2 separate regions of the Homo sapiens genome follow, and region 1 is linked to region 2. The links are contacts of gene promoters, found by promoter capture Hi-C in human tissues and cell types (Jung and others, 2019). All regions are on one chromosome and are shown on one strand. The core of a region is centred on a gene start or on the middle of the fragment in contact, and the rest is flanking DNA. Distances in the headings are between cores, read along the strand shown. Region 1 overlaps DIP2C (disco interacting protein 2 homolog C). Region 2 holds the start of DIP2C (disco interacting protein 2 homolog C).

Evidence for each region. The method cuts DNA at HindIII sites, captures the fragments that hold promoters and counts their contacts. A contact is called where the count stands out against the background at its distance.
Region 1: a fragment that was not itself captured here is called in contact with the fragment with the promoter of DIP2C in region 2 in 4 of the 25 tissues and cell types used here (H1 embryonic stem cells, IMR-90 fibroblasts, bladder and 1 more).

Annotation. Positions count from the first base shown.
Region 1 is chr10:412,163-419,523 of GRCh38, forward strand. DIP2C (disco interacting protein 2 homolog C) reads right to left here. Exons shown (of 37, transcript NM_014974.3): 6 at 6,903-7,037; 7 at 3,607-3,726; 8 at 1,751-1,948. Among named protein-coding and RNA genes, the nearest start is that of DIP2C-AS2, 210 kb to the right of the region's middle. RefSeq lists an enhancer at 3,360-4,559. The HindIII fragment of the contact is 5,876 bases long and covers 584-6,459 here.
Region 2 is chr10:688,300-695,329 of GRCh38, forward strand. It overlaps DIP2C (disco interacting protein 2 homolog C), which reads right to left and starts at 1,369. Exons shown (of 37, transcript NM_014974.3): 1 at 1,195-1,369. The coding sequence starts at 1,279. RefSeq lists an enhancer at 1,744-2,679. The HindIII fragment of the contact is 17,538 bases long and covers 1-6,253 here.

The DNA of each region.
Region 1 (7,361 bases), core at 2,272-4,771, 270 kb before region 2:
ATCCTTCTGATCGACATCAGAAGCCCCGTGAGAACTGTGTCTTATTGTCTTTGATTTCCCAAAGCTTAGTTCTGTGCCAATGCATACTGCATGCTTAAAACACCCAAGTGAACGTCTATTAGTTCTCAGAGTGAACACATGCACCCGAACAGTTCGGCTGCTCCTGGAATTCCCCGCATGTAGGCGGGGAGGCCTCAGAGGCCATCAGCTGTCATGCAGCAGCGACTCCAAGTACACAATTAGCTCCAGGGCTGAATTTGGCCGGAGATGAGGGTCACATAGAAAAGTCTTTCATGCTTTTGACTCAATAAAACCTATTTCTGAGAGCATAATTAAAAAAATAAAGTTTATGCTTCATCATGGATGCCACACACTGTCCATTTAAAACTACTCAATGAAGCCATAAAAGCAAAGGGGCTACGAAACGCACGCTCCCAAACCCAATATGCTCCTAGGCCCAAATCCCACATCTGTCCTGAGATGCACAGGTTGACAGCTGCTGCCTCCCAGAGCCCCACCCTGAAAGGCTAGGGTCTGAGGTTCCACGGTTCAACATAGCATCTGGCTTTTGACCTCCATGGCTAATGTAGAAATCAATTCCTTTCCTACCTGCAATCAGAAAAGTGTTGTAACAACAAAAGCTAAAGTTAAAAACAAAACCTGCCAACTGACAACAGGCGGAACTATGTACTGTACTATCCCAAGAGTCTAGAACTGAAACAGCTATGTTTAAAATTTCAGCTATCAACATAAATCTCAGACATGCAGACACAATATGAACCATTTTGGTCCTTCAGTTATTTTCGTATCTTTTGAAAATTCTAACTGATTAATTTTTTAGAGATGGGGTCTTGCTCTGTCACTGAGGCTGGAGTGCTGTGACACAATCATAGCTCAATGCAGCCTCGACCTCCTCCTCCTGCCTCAGCTCCCAAGCAGCTGGGACTACAGGCATGAGCCATCATGCCAGCCTTTTAGTTACTACTTTCTTTGTAAAGCTGAAGCAGACAGAAAATAGCCTGACAATCTGCCCCTCCATGGCCTCTTATCCACAGAAAAAAGAGAAACGCACTTCTCTGCTACCGTTAACCATGTGCAAAAAGCTTACAGACTGTATTAATTGTACTGAAGACTTAAGGGAAAGGCGGTTTCTCTGGCCTTCTGAAAAAGTCCCTTGGAAACCGATTTTGATTTTTCTGAGTGATACATACCAGAAAGTTTAGATAGACATTTTTTCTAACTACCAATCTTTGCTGAAAGCATGCATTTCAATAAATCACACATGTATTTAAGATCTAACATCTTATTAGAGCTATGGTCACTGCTTCAAGCAGCCATTTCTGGTTTTAACTCAAAAAATATTTAACAAATAACTTTTTATATTGAAATCAAATAGTTTTCCTAAAGAGTTTCTTGAGATTCCATTTATTTCTGTGCGGAAACATAAGGCAGCACAAAATCAATCAGTCACCAGAAGTAACAGACACTGAGCTTTGTGTGTTTGGGAGTGGCTGCGCGAGGGGGTGGGCAAAGGGCAGAGGGTAAACCTCCGGATTACCTTAAGTGAGGATTTAAACAGACACTGAGCTTCGTGCGTTCGGGAGTGGCTGCGCGAGGGCGTGGGCAAAGGGCAGAGGGTTAGCCTCGGGATTACCTTAAGTGAGGATGTAAACGGACACTGAGTTTCCTGCGTTCGGGAGTGGCTGTGCGAGGGGGTGGGCAAAGGGCAGAGAGTGAGCCTGGGGATTACCGTAAGTGAGGATGTAGAGGGGCTTCCCGTTGGTGTCCATGGTGGTCAGGCAGGGCGCCTTGGGCGAGATGGTGCCCCACCTCTGCAGTGCGGCCTCCAGCGACGGCGGCCAGTTCGTGACCACGCCCAGCTGCTCTCCGCGCATGGCCAGCATCTGGGCCCCCTCCGGCTTTGGTTGGTTCGGATCCGGTTGTTGAACTAAATCGTTTGAATACAAGAGGTTACAAGAGAAATGCATCCACATTAGCATGGCTACTTTTTATTCTTTATAAAGAAGCCAAGAGATTTATACTTAAGCTGTACATTTATTAGCTGACAGAAAAGCATGCTTTTCTAGAATTGGGGTCTATACACTAGCATCACGGATGCTGGTAAAAAATTAGTTCTTGTAATTTCCAAGGCAGCATGTGGGTAGAGCGCTTAGGTGGACCTGCACACAGCTGCAAACTGATAACAGGTGGAAACTGCGCTGCACACTGTGCCCAGAGGCTGGAATTCAAACAGCCATGCTGAAATTTCCATTACCAACATCAGCTAGTGATTTTGGACCCCAAATTGCTTAAATCTTGCTAAATTATATTTTGTCCTGAAAGATTAATGATAAATATATTTTCTGAGGCAGGGTCTCTCTCTTTTGCCTTGGCTGGAGTGCAGTGGCATGATCACAGTTCCCTGCAGCCTCGACCTCCCAGGCTCAGGTTATCCTCCCACTTCAGCCTCTGCTACAGTCCTAGCCTGTAGCTAGGACTACAGGCATGCACCACCACGCCCAGCTAATTTTAGAGTGTGTATGTATGTGTGTGTGTGTGTGTGTGTGTGTGTGTGTGTACATATATATATATATAATGTGTATATATATAATGTGTATATATATATAAAATGTATATATATTTTGTAGAGACAGGTTTGGGCAATATATATATACACACACATATATATTTGTGTGTGTGTGTGTGTGTGTGTGTGTGTGTGTGTGTGTATATATATATATATATTTTTTTTTTTTTTTGGTAGAGACAGGGTTTTGCCATATTGCCCAGGCTGGTCTCGAACTCCCAGGCTCAAGTGATCTGCCTACTTTGACCTCCAACAGTGCTGGAATTATAGGCATGAGCCACCGCACCTGGCCTGAGCTGTACATTTAAATCTGCTACAAGTACTCTGAATAACAGGAACACGGAGTGAGTATTTTCCTGAGTAAAACTAAAATCAGTGCATCATAAATACCACCTGCCCAATCCTTGAGAGAGGTGAAGAATGGAAATTATCTCTTCCATTTCTGGAACAGACTTGTCTGTCACTTTATGACTGACAAAATCAGTCGTTTCTACTTGTGGTTTAACACATAAGATACTAAGGAGCTCAAGTTTGCTACAATGAGCAGTTCTTGTGCTTTATTTCAACTTTAAGTTGTTTGTCTAAAAAGACCCAGGAGCATTCAGGGGCAAAGGCAGCAGCTCCGGCACCTATAAGGAGAGGCAGCAGGAGGAGGGAGGAGACAGCACTTCACACGCCAGTTTTGCTGCCAGCGAAGGATTTCCCCAGTTTACTTGTTTTTCTACATGTTTATACTTTACTTGTATTTCTATACTCTTACAGAGTTCTTAGAGAGAGACCTGACCTGGGTCACAGAACAAAATCAACTCCCACAGAGGACGACTAACAACCAGGTTTAGAGACCTGCCGACACCAAGGCTGCCTGGGAACATCACCCGCTCCCTACCTGGGTTCCCATCATGCGGCAAATGCCACGATTACTGCTCTTAAAAAGTAAAATAGCCTTGCAGAAAAAAATATCATTGTTTACGGGACCATAGGAGCATCTGGAAGAAACGTGTGGTAAAGAGTTCTCTCACCTTCTAATAATTCTTCAAAGTCATCGACAAAGAATTCTCGTAAAGGTGGTCGTTTCGGTCGTTTGAGGGTATTGACAAGCTGCTGGATTTTTGCTGACACCCGGCTACTTACTGGTACTCCTGAAAAACAGGAATCAGCGGGTGGGGAAAGCGATCATCACAGCTTCAATGAGCACCCACAGTCCCACAGTCCCACAGCCCCCTCCCCAGCGCGGCTACAACAGGCTGCATCCTAGATGCGATCCTGGGAAGGGCCCGAGGTGATCATGCTGTACGGTAGCCCCGTGGCTAGGCAGGAGACCGGACAGAGATACATCGGACCCGAATGTCTACCACGTTCCAGGATGTGCTGTTCTGCTGGTCATGCTGGGAGGAGCCTCAGGGCCACACCTGCTTGACCCCAGCTCTGATTCTCAGGACAGAATTGTCACCTGCAGAGGGCAGACTCCTCATTCCCACTGCCCCAGGCCCCCTCTTCTCAACAGGGTGAGACCATCCGTGGAGCAGTAAGTCCTTCCCTGCGTCTATCTCTCCAGAGACCACCAGCATTCAGCCTCACACCAGCATTCAGCCTCATGGAGGCACGAGAACATCGGGCCGCTGAGTCACGTCTGGAACCCCCAGCATCCCACAGCCCCGGGCTCAGGTTTCAGCACCACCACGCCCAAGCCCTGTCCACTCCTAATAAAGACTGAGCTCCTCACACGCGTTCCAAACCCACGCAGCTCAGCCCACACACAGGCAATGCATCCTAAAGCACAGAAGTTAAAGTCTCTAAATTCAAATTTTTGTGTAACAGAATACTAGCCCCTACCTATCCAAGTGGACCGAGAAAAGCCCCATTTTAAAATACTGTGCTAATTATAATGAATGCTGCACCATTCTGAAAATCAACTGGTTTGATCAATGAAAGAGTCAAGGTTTTCAAATTTTAAGATAAATAAATCAAATGAACAAGACAGAGGACCAAGACGCTGATGCCACAACTAGATCAAAAGCGTCCTCCTCAGGCACACGCTGCAGGCCGGCAGGACCTGGGAAACCATCACCCAGAGCTGTGGGCTTGGACGGTGCAGGGGTCTCTGTAGGTGCAGCTGGCAGTCCATTCCCCTCACCTGAGGCAGAGCCCTTGTTCGCCCCCGCACTGGACCATAAAAAACAGACTTCAACATTTGCGGGGAATAGAACAGAATTCAAGGAAATTTTTTCTATCAAGATTTTTTAATAGGTAGTCTCAAAATGCTCTATAGCACTTTAAGAATTGAGACATTAAATATTTCATATCTCTGAAAATACAGAAAAACACACAATCCAGAACTCTCAATATCCACACATAGTATGTTCCCATTAAATAGCCCAACTAATTTGGTTCAGATGAATCATACCATTCCACCAGGCCAACGATTCTCAAGCTTAATTTGGCAGATGTCAGAATTGCCTCAGGGACCCCCGAACTTCTAGCTCATGACGTCTGGGGTGTGACCCAGAATCACCCTCCCAGCAAGGGCCCCTGTGGGATTCTGGTGTGGGAGGCTATGACACGCCGAGACAGCACAACACACCACGCAGGATTTACCTGGGGAACAAAGGCAAAGGTACAGACTTGAAAGACGACAAAGTTACTAAAATGACAAGAATAACAAAAATGGCCAATTTAGTAAAGACGAACTCATCAGAGAACTAAAGCAAATAATGACACCAAAAGGCATTCCAGGAAAAGTCATCGCACTGGCAATCAGGGCGATTTCAAGCGCACTAACTGGACACTTACGAAGGCACAGTTGGGCTCTGCCTCACGTGAGGATGTGGCAGTGCGCCTGTTGGAGCTAGGATAGGCATCCCTGTCTGCCTGCGCCTGTCAGGGCTCGGATAGGCCTCCCTGTCCACCTGTTCCTGTCAGGGCTCGGATAGGCCTCCCTGTCCGCCTGTGCCTGTCGGCTCAAATAGGCCTCCCTGTCTGCCTGCGCCTGTCAGGGCTCGGATAGGCATCCCTGTCCACCTGCACCTGTCAGGGCTCGGATAGGCCTCCCTGTCCACCTGTTCCTGTCAGGGCGCGGACAGGCCTCCCTGTCCACCTGCACCTGTCAGAGCTCGGACAGGCCTCCCTGTCCACCTGCACCTGTCAGGGCTCGGATAGGCCTCCCTGTCCACCTGTTCCTGTCAGGGCTTCGATAGGCCTCCCTGTCCACCTGCACCTGTCAGGGCTCGGATAGGCCTCCCTGTCCACCTGCACCTGTCAGGGCGCGGACAGGCCTCCCTGTCCACCTGTTCCTGTCAGGGCTTCGATAGGCCTCCCTGTTCACTGCACCTGTCAGGCCTCAGATAGGCATCCCCGTCCACCTGTCGGAGCTCGGATAGGCCTCCCTGTCCACCTGCACCTGTCAGAGCTCGGACAGGCCTCCCTGTCCACCTGCACCTGTCAGGGCGCGGACAGGCCTCCCTGTCCACCTGTTCCTGTCAGGGCTTCGATAGGCCTCCCTGTTCACTGCACCTGTCAGGCCTCAGATAGGCATCCCCGTCCACCTGTCGGAGCTCGGATAGGCCTCCCTGTCCACTGTGCCTGTCGGGGCTCTGATAGGCCTCCCTGTCCGCCTGTGAGTCCCGTGCACCGCAAGATGACAGCATACCAAGGCTGCTCCATGCAGCTTCACACAAGGGCATTGTATTTCACCGCTAGGTTCTACCCTGACTTTTATGACCTCGGGAAGGACTGAGACCTAAATGGAATAGGGGCTGAGTGACACGAACAGCCGCTGTAGTCAGAATATACCAAGACTGGGCCACAAAGAAGGAAGGAAGAAGCCCTCGGCCACAGCCTGTTACCAAGTCACCGATATCTCTGTCCAACGTGGATAAAAAGACCCTCTTTCCTCCAAAGTCTAAAGCAACATATCAGCCCATCTGACAGTAATTCTGTTGTACATTTAACTTCATCTTGCTCTTCTAAGTGACTGTTCATGGTCTTAACACACCTGTACAAGAATTTCTCAGTTGCTGAACCACCGTTATTCAGCAGCAAAAACGGCAGCAAATTCTAAAATTTCTTTTTCTTCTCATGACTAAATTCCTACAACATTTACATTTTTCCTACAAGGAATAACTGTGGGCTCACTTGGAGAATATTTGCATTTTTGTGGCTAGGCCACCTTCCATGAGAGGCTCCCGAAGATCTGATAAATTGGCTTTGTCAGAACCGATTGTACCCCAGGAAGAAACACATCCAGTCATGGGCACGGAACGGGACGTCAGCACAAACCGTTTACCAGAAAAAAACGCATCTCTCCTTTGGGACGTACCATCCCCGGTCTCCATGAGCTCGGCGTTGCCGTACTTGGGCGCTGTCCGGGACCCCGTGGAACCCTGCGGTCTCTCCACCTGTATCGAGTGCTCTGAGGTGTACGTGGTTACGTCAGGAGGTGCAGAATGATTTTCTGTAAAGAAACACATCATGAGATTTTCTGGTGGTTGTGATGTTTGCTCTGAAGGTGGAACAAGCCACAGCCCAGGAAGAGACTGAAGCACAGGTGCTCACCCTGGGTGTGCCATGGAAAGCCAGAGCCGATCTCAGCCGCATCTGCCACACACATCCAGCACAAAGGGGGACCCCAGCATAACTCATGTTGCCGCAAATGGAGCAGAGTTCGGTAAAACCTCAGACGTAATTTCCTAACGGGAGCCATGTCAGCAGCATTTTAACTAGAATAACGTTAGACTGGCAATGGCAGGGCGTCAGGAACCCTGTGTGTGTTCACGGA
Region 2 (7,030 bases), core at 119-2,618:
TCTGAAACTGAAAAACAGTACCATTTCCCGTCCCCAGAAGTCTGGAAAGGCAGTTGGCTGCACACCATGGCCCCTGCTCACTCCCTTCTTTGCCCTGAAAGTGTTAAAAAGGAAAACATAAAGTCAACACCAGCTCCTCCCTGCCGGTGAAAATTGGCACGAATGAGTTTACTTTCTGGCTGCCGGCCCTCACAAAACCGTTACCCAAAAAAAGTTCACCATGCTAAACTGCTCCAAATATAAATGTGAGACGCGCCGGCCCACCCCCACCCCACCCCACGTTACAGGAATGGCCTGACCAGGATGAGCCCAGAGACGGCTAAATGCACATCAAACATTTCAGATTTGGGAACTTCAGTGGTTTTGGGGAAAAGACCTGGCAAAGCCCGATCTGAAACTTATGACAGTTGAGCACATGATCTCCGCCATGAAGAGCAAATAAGAGGCGTACACAACCCTCCATAAGACCGCGGTGGCTGATCTGCCACAAACCCTCCTACGAGAGGACCAGGACGGCAAGGCCGGAGCCCGGCCCGGGGGGAGGTTGACGATTCCGCCCAGCCCTCCCCGCGCAGCGCCCGCGAACAATGGGGGTGGGATCCCCCGGGCCGCGCCAGGACCGCTGCACGGCCTGAGCCACCAGAGATCGAACCCGGGGTCCAACGACAAGTTTCGCATTGAAATCTGGCCGGGCGTTCCAGGCCGAACCCGCCAGCGAGGAGGTGGCGCGCACCGCGCTGCTGCACCAAGGACGCCGCGGCTCCAGCGCAGAGCGCACGGGAAGGCCGATCCCGCCGGGCCCGCTGCATCCTGCGTCCCCGCGCGGCGCCCAGGCCCCACAGACACCCCCAGGGCGCGGGGGGATCGCGGCCCCACAAACATCCCAGGGCGCGGGGGATCGCGGCCCCACAAACACCCCCAGAGCGCGAGGGGATCCCAGGCCCCACAGACACCCCCAGGGCGCGGGGAATCGCGGCCCCACAAACGTCCCCAGAGCGCGGGGGATCGCGGCCTCACAAACGTCCCTAGGGCGCGGGGTCTGGGGGTCCGGGGGACGCGCACGCTCCGGGCTGGGGTCGCACCTCCCCCTCCGGGCCCGGCCCCCGCCCCGCCGCAGGCCCCGCGCCCCCAGCCCTCCGCGCGCGGCCCTCCCCGGTGACAGCGCGGCCCGGCCCGGGGCGGGGGCCCGGTTACCTTCCGACAGCTCCAGCTCCAGCTCGGCCAGGCGCGCCCGCACCTCCAGGGGCAGCGCCATGCCCTCCAGGCTGCGGTCCGCCATGCTCCGCGGGCGCCGCGCCCCGCACGGCCTCCTCTTTGTTCGCAGGCGGAGGTCTCGGCGGCTCCTCGCGCCCGGCGGAACCGCACCGAGGAGGAGGCGGCGGCGCGGGCGCGGGAGGCGGGCGGCGGGCGCGCAGGGACCTCCCTCCCCTCGGCGCCTCCTCAGCGCGGCCCCGCCACGGCCGCCTCGCGCGCCCCCGCGCCCCACGGTCCCCGGCCCGCCCCGCGCGCGCTCGGCCCCTCCCCGCAGGCGCTGCGGACCCGGACCCGGCCCTGCTGCTCTCGGCCCCGGCCCGGCGGGAGCGTCTCTGCGCGCGCGCGTCACGGGGCCGCGGGGGCAGGGCGCGCGCGCGCGGGGCGCGAGGACGCGCAGGAGCGGGAGCGCGCGGGGGGGCGCGCGGCCGCGTCGGCGAAGCGCGCGCTCCCGGGGGCGCGCTCGGGGGCGGGTTGGGGGCTCGGGGCCCGCGGGGCGGGGCGGGGCGGGGCGGTCTTGTCTGTCCTGGGCTCTGCGCGTCCAGCGGAGCCTGCGGGCCCGGCCCCAGAGCCTGGTCCACCCGGCTCCCTGCGAAAATCACGTCCTGGAGCCGCAGCTTGACGTCTGCGCGAAAACTCGCAGTGCCCCGGGTCTTGGAGGGCTGGTTTTTTGTTAATGAACATTTTAAGAGGCGGAGACGGAGCGCTAGGCTGGAAGTTTCGAATGCAACGACCAGCAGATGACCTTGAGCGACTCTGAGCCTTTGCCTGGAGGGTCAGTGTCCCCATCTGTGAAAAGGGGATGGGAAGACAAGGTTGGGTCACCTAATCTCCAAATGCCAGGTGGGCCCGAAAAGCCTGGCTCCAGCCCTCCCGGAACAGGCTGCAGGCCCCAGGGTTCCCACCGTCCTTCTCCTTGTGGGGCCATCAGCTCCCAGCCTCAGTGCCACCTCGGCGAGGCTGAAGCCCCGTCTGTGCCTCTAGTCCTGACCATCTGGGGAGGCCCTCGCATCTCCAACCGTCCACTGAGCAAACTTCCCTGGAAGCCCCTAGACACCCCAAACGCCACAAACCCTAAATGAAGCCAGCTGCTTCCAGTGACTCTTAGTCACTGGAAGTTCTGCTTCTCAGAACCGCCCCCGTTGTCTTCATCATCACCTTCCTCTGTCTCCACACATCCTCCCCAGTCTGTTGCACAAAGCCCCGACGACCTGGCCTCCTTTTCATCCTTGTACCCCCTCTTCCCAGCCCGGCCCCTCCCTTAGGCCCAGAGCTTCCTAAAGACCTCCTCGCCTCCCCGTCCTCCACGGGACATTGGCCAGCGCTGGCTCCCGGAGGCCCAGCTGCACTCACTCCCCTTTCAGAGTGGGCCGCAGGAACACAGGTCCCCCACCTCACCCCCCTACCCCTACCCCCCACCACCCCCCCACCCCGCTTCGACCGGAGCCCCCACCAGCCGGGACCCACCTGCACGGCAGCCTTGCGGCCTCCACACTCCGGCTCCTGCAAACAACGCGGCTGACCCGCAGCACCTCTGCTCCCGGCCTCCACCCCGGAGAGCCTGCCCCTTCTCTGCCCCTGCCACCCACAGCCATCCCTGACCCCAGGTCCAGAACAATCTCTCTCCTTTCTCTTCCTGCACCGGCCACTTCCCGCCCTCATCACGTTTGACCTTTTTTATCTTCTCTGTATTCTTTGTGAGTGTAAGCGCCTGGAGGACAGAGCCCATGCCTCACCCACCTTTGCCCTTCCCATGGATCTAGCAGTGGTGGCAACCGCCAGAGGTGTGTGCATTTCCTGTAAGGATCGGTCCTTTCAGTGGGGAATTGTGAGAATGACATTCGACGATGAGCTGGGAAACAGGAACCCCAAACCCGTGTGCTTCCTGCGCCGAGCCGTGTGCCTCCGCCTGGTGTGCGCCGTGGGTTCGTCCTTCGCTCCAGACTGCGTTCAATGCAACAGATACGGGTGGCACAAGCATGTGGCCCCACCATCATCTCTCCCCTTTGCATGATAAAGAGACCGACCAGCAATGCAGGGGCCGTGGGGAAGATCCCACACAGCCCCTACACGTCACAGATAAAAGTCCTTAGAGACAGAAAGGGGAGCAGAACCAGGATTCAAACCCCAGTCTCCAAAGCAAAGCCCTGAGTTCATTTCATTACAGCAAAGATGCACTGTGCATTCCAAGCAATAAATGGTGTCAAGTCCATTTAGGGCGGTATAATGTCGGAATAAAAAATATATATTCGCGGGCCAGGCACGGTGGCTCACACCTGTAATCCCAACACTTTGGGAGGCCAAGGCAGGTGGATCATGAGGTCAGGAGTTCAAGACCAGCCTAGTCAATATGGTGAAACCCCATCTCTACTAAAAACTACAAAAAATTAGCTGGGCATGGTGGCACACACCTGTAGTCCCAGCTACTCAGGAGGCTGAGGCAGGAGGATCACTTGAACCCGGGAGGTGGAGGTTACAGTGAACCGAGATCGCACCACTGCACTCCAGCCTGGGTGACAGAGCGAGATTCAGTCTCAAAAAAAAAAATACATATATATATATATATATATATATATATATATTCTTTTTGATGGGCCTTAATCATTTGCATATGATCCTATGACTGATGTTGGTTGCAAAGAAAACTTGTAATTTGCATTAAACACATCAATTGCAAACTCAGATTTTGAGCTGATGGTTCCTTTCAGCAGGTCTTTGGGCACCTACACATTACACGTGTGAGTGTGGGCTCTCGGTCTTAGACTGCCATTTCCAGGAGCCTGATAGATATCATCTTTATCTGGAACTCCTACCATCTCCTTGAAATTCATGCTGTCCACAATCAAACTCATCCTACCTACCAATACTTTCCCCCATGTACATTATTTCTGAGAGCAGCCTCCCTTTCACTTTGAGTCCCCTCAAGAACTTCTACCCACAGCATTTCTCTTGTGCGCCACCTGCTCCTGTCGAGGCCTCTGGCTATGGCCCATGTCAGGCCTTCAGAGCCTCCTTCCAGTCTTCCCACCACGGCTGTCAGATCACTCTTCTAAAAAGTCCCTCTTAGCACAGACCACAGGCCCCTTGCTGTACAACCCATGATTCTATGCCTGCAAACTGAAGAAATCCTTAATTGACACCAATGGTCTCACGAGCCCTGCACTAAACATTTCTCCTGCTTTCTGTTCCTCCCGTCTCTTTCAAGCTCCGAGGTTCAGCTGCAGAATTCCCAGCTGTCCATGGAGAGTCCCCACCTGTGGTGTCTGTTTTTCTAATGTGCTCCCTCCTGTCGTCTCCCCTTCCCCACAACCTGAGTCATAGCCGCACACGGAATTTCACCCAGTCCAGTCCAAGTTCAAACGCCACTTCTTCCATGCAGCCTTCCCAAATCTCCTGGTTAGAAAGATTCTCTCCCACCTGTGGAATTACACACCTCTTTATCCACCTGCTCTCCCTGGGATTGGTCATTTATGTGTGTGTTTTGTCTGGTGGCTGGCTTATCTATAATTGTCCCATTGTGTTGACTGACACCACAAACAGCATAGTGCCTCTGTCTGGAAGTGCAGACCAGCACAGGAGCGGAGAGGAGCAGCCCCTTCCTCGGTCTCATTCTGCTCCACCTGTGAGCAGCCTTGCGGAACGTGTGGTTGGTGAACACCTTGCCATCTTACGTGTTCCTAAGTGTAAAAACCTGGTTCAAATGTCTGCCCAGGCAGGAATGAAGGTGCCCAATAGATGTTTATTAGAATGAATCAAATAGACTCCCAGGGCTGTTGGCTTCAAAAGCTCTGCCAAACCCCCGAAATTTCCATCAGGGATTAAAGTCACGTTTTTGAGCTACTCCACAGTTTTGCCTAGACAAGTCTCGAAAACAGTGTTGTGAGCTCCACAGAGCGACAGCTACATGTATCTAATTAAACAATTAATTAATTACCATGCCAGCTAGTATTTGAGGACCCGTTTCTAGGTCTTGCTTTACTGTCTGCTGACGGGTAATTCGTCACCATTATTTACCCTAACTTCCAGGACCTCACCTATTTTTTTCTGTCTCACTGAATTCCAAGCCAATTCTAATGAGTGAAAAATTAATTACTTACGTGTAATGGGCTCGAGATTTCAGGAAATCTGACTGGGGTGGGAAAGAGTAGCAAAGGAATGTGTTGAATCAGAGCAGGCTGGAGGTATCGGTGCCAGGCAGAGAGTTTATTTATTCATGAGATCGCTAACAGGAAGGAAACACAAAGCTCTCAGGGAGTGGCTCCCCTGCAGAAATGCATCTCAGAGCTGCACCTAGACTACCTCCCTCTTTATCAGATTAATGGAAAATTGTTCATGCTGCACTCTCCCCTGTGTGCCCCAATTCTGTGACTTTTTTTTTTCCTTTTCCAAAGCTACTGGAAGAGTAGGTGGTAAAACACTGTGGCTGGCGTCCCCCAGGTACTTACATCTTCAATCCTCTGTATGGCCGGGGGAAGCAGGGGTTACCATCTCATTGTGACAAAATCTTCCTAAGCTGCAATTTCCACACAGAACCGTGGCTGGAAGCTTATGTTTTGGGTTATGTTTCATTCTTGTCTTACCATATTATCAGAAATTCAGCTTGGGTAGACTAAGGAAAGGACAAAAGTGAGTAATCGCCTGACACAGAAAGCTTGGGTTTAATTAATTAGTATTTAGAAAGCAACTTAAGACTCCGGAACGCAACTCATCTATGCAGTCAAGAGATCATTAACATTTTTGTGACACAGGTGTTTTTCACAACATTATAGAATTAACTCTGTAATGTGACTATGACTAAGTTTGGTAAACCAGAGGTACATTTTCCTGTCTATTGGTGGTTACTGTCTTCCTCTGGAAGTAACAAACTATCCAATCTATTTACTGAAGAACAAGTACATTAGTAAAAGAGAAAAAGCAAGAAATACTCCCAGAGATTCCCACACTACAATTAATTTGCTTTTCCATTTAATTGATGGAAGTACTGAGAATTCAACTGTGAGTCAAAAATATTTTGATGGAAAAACAAGTTGTGAAATGTATCCTGAGCAAATCACCTAAGTGTTTGGTTGTATATGTTATTATACATCGATATACAATTATCGATAATTGAATTATTTCTGGTAATTTGAGTAATTTCAGTTAATTCTTAATCACTGTGCTAATGATAACACAGGCAGTACAAAATAACAAATTATGCAAAAATTGCTCCTGTTTTATCTTAGATTATATAATACTTTACAGCATATTTCCTTTGCCAATTATGATTAATGTCTGGCTTACTTAAGCTATTGTTAAAATTAATTACCATTTTCAGAACCCATATCCACTAACAGCTGAGACAAGCAACACACAAGCTTCTGAAGTAGAAAGGAGAGGCTGGAGACTAAAATTTTGCCATCAAAAATTGGCAAAGCGAGAAAGTGTCAGAAAATTTTAAAATTGACCTTATTCTTCAAAATGGGAAAACACGCACACACCCCAAGTCAAGAGCATTCCCAGATGGCTTCTGCGGTGAGACCCCACTACAGTGCTCTTGAGTTGCGTGAGTCACAGAAGCTTGTGGCTGTGGCCCAAGTCTGGGCCATCTCACACCCACACCTGACAAAAGCAAAGAAAAACAGAGAGGGTCGTGAGGCTCCACTGTCCACACTGAGGCCACAGTGATCCAGGGAGTCCAGCAGCTGTGAGACCAGGCTGCCTAACCATCACCTGGCAAACCAGAGGTTGAAGCTTCATTTGTCGAGAAAGGTCTGGGGGAGTCTGAGACAAGGGCCCTCCC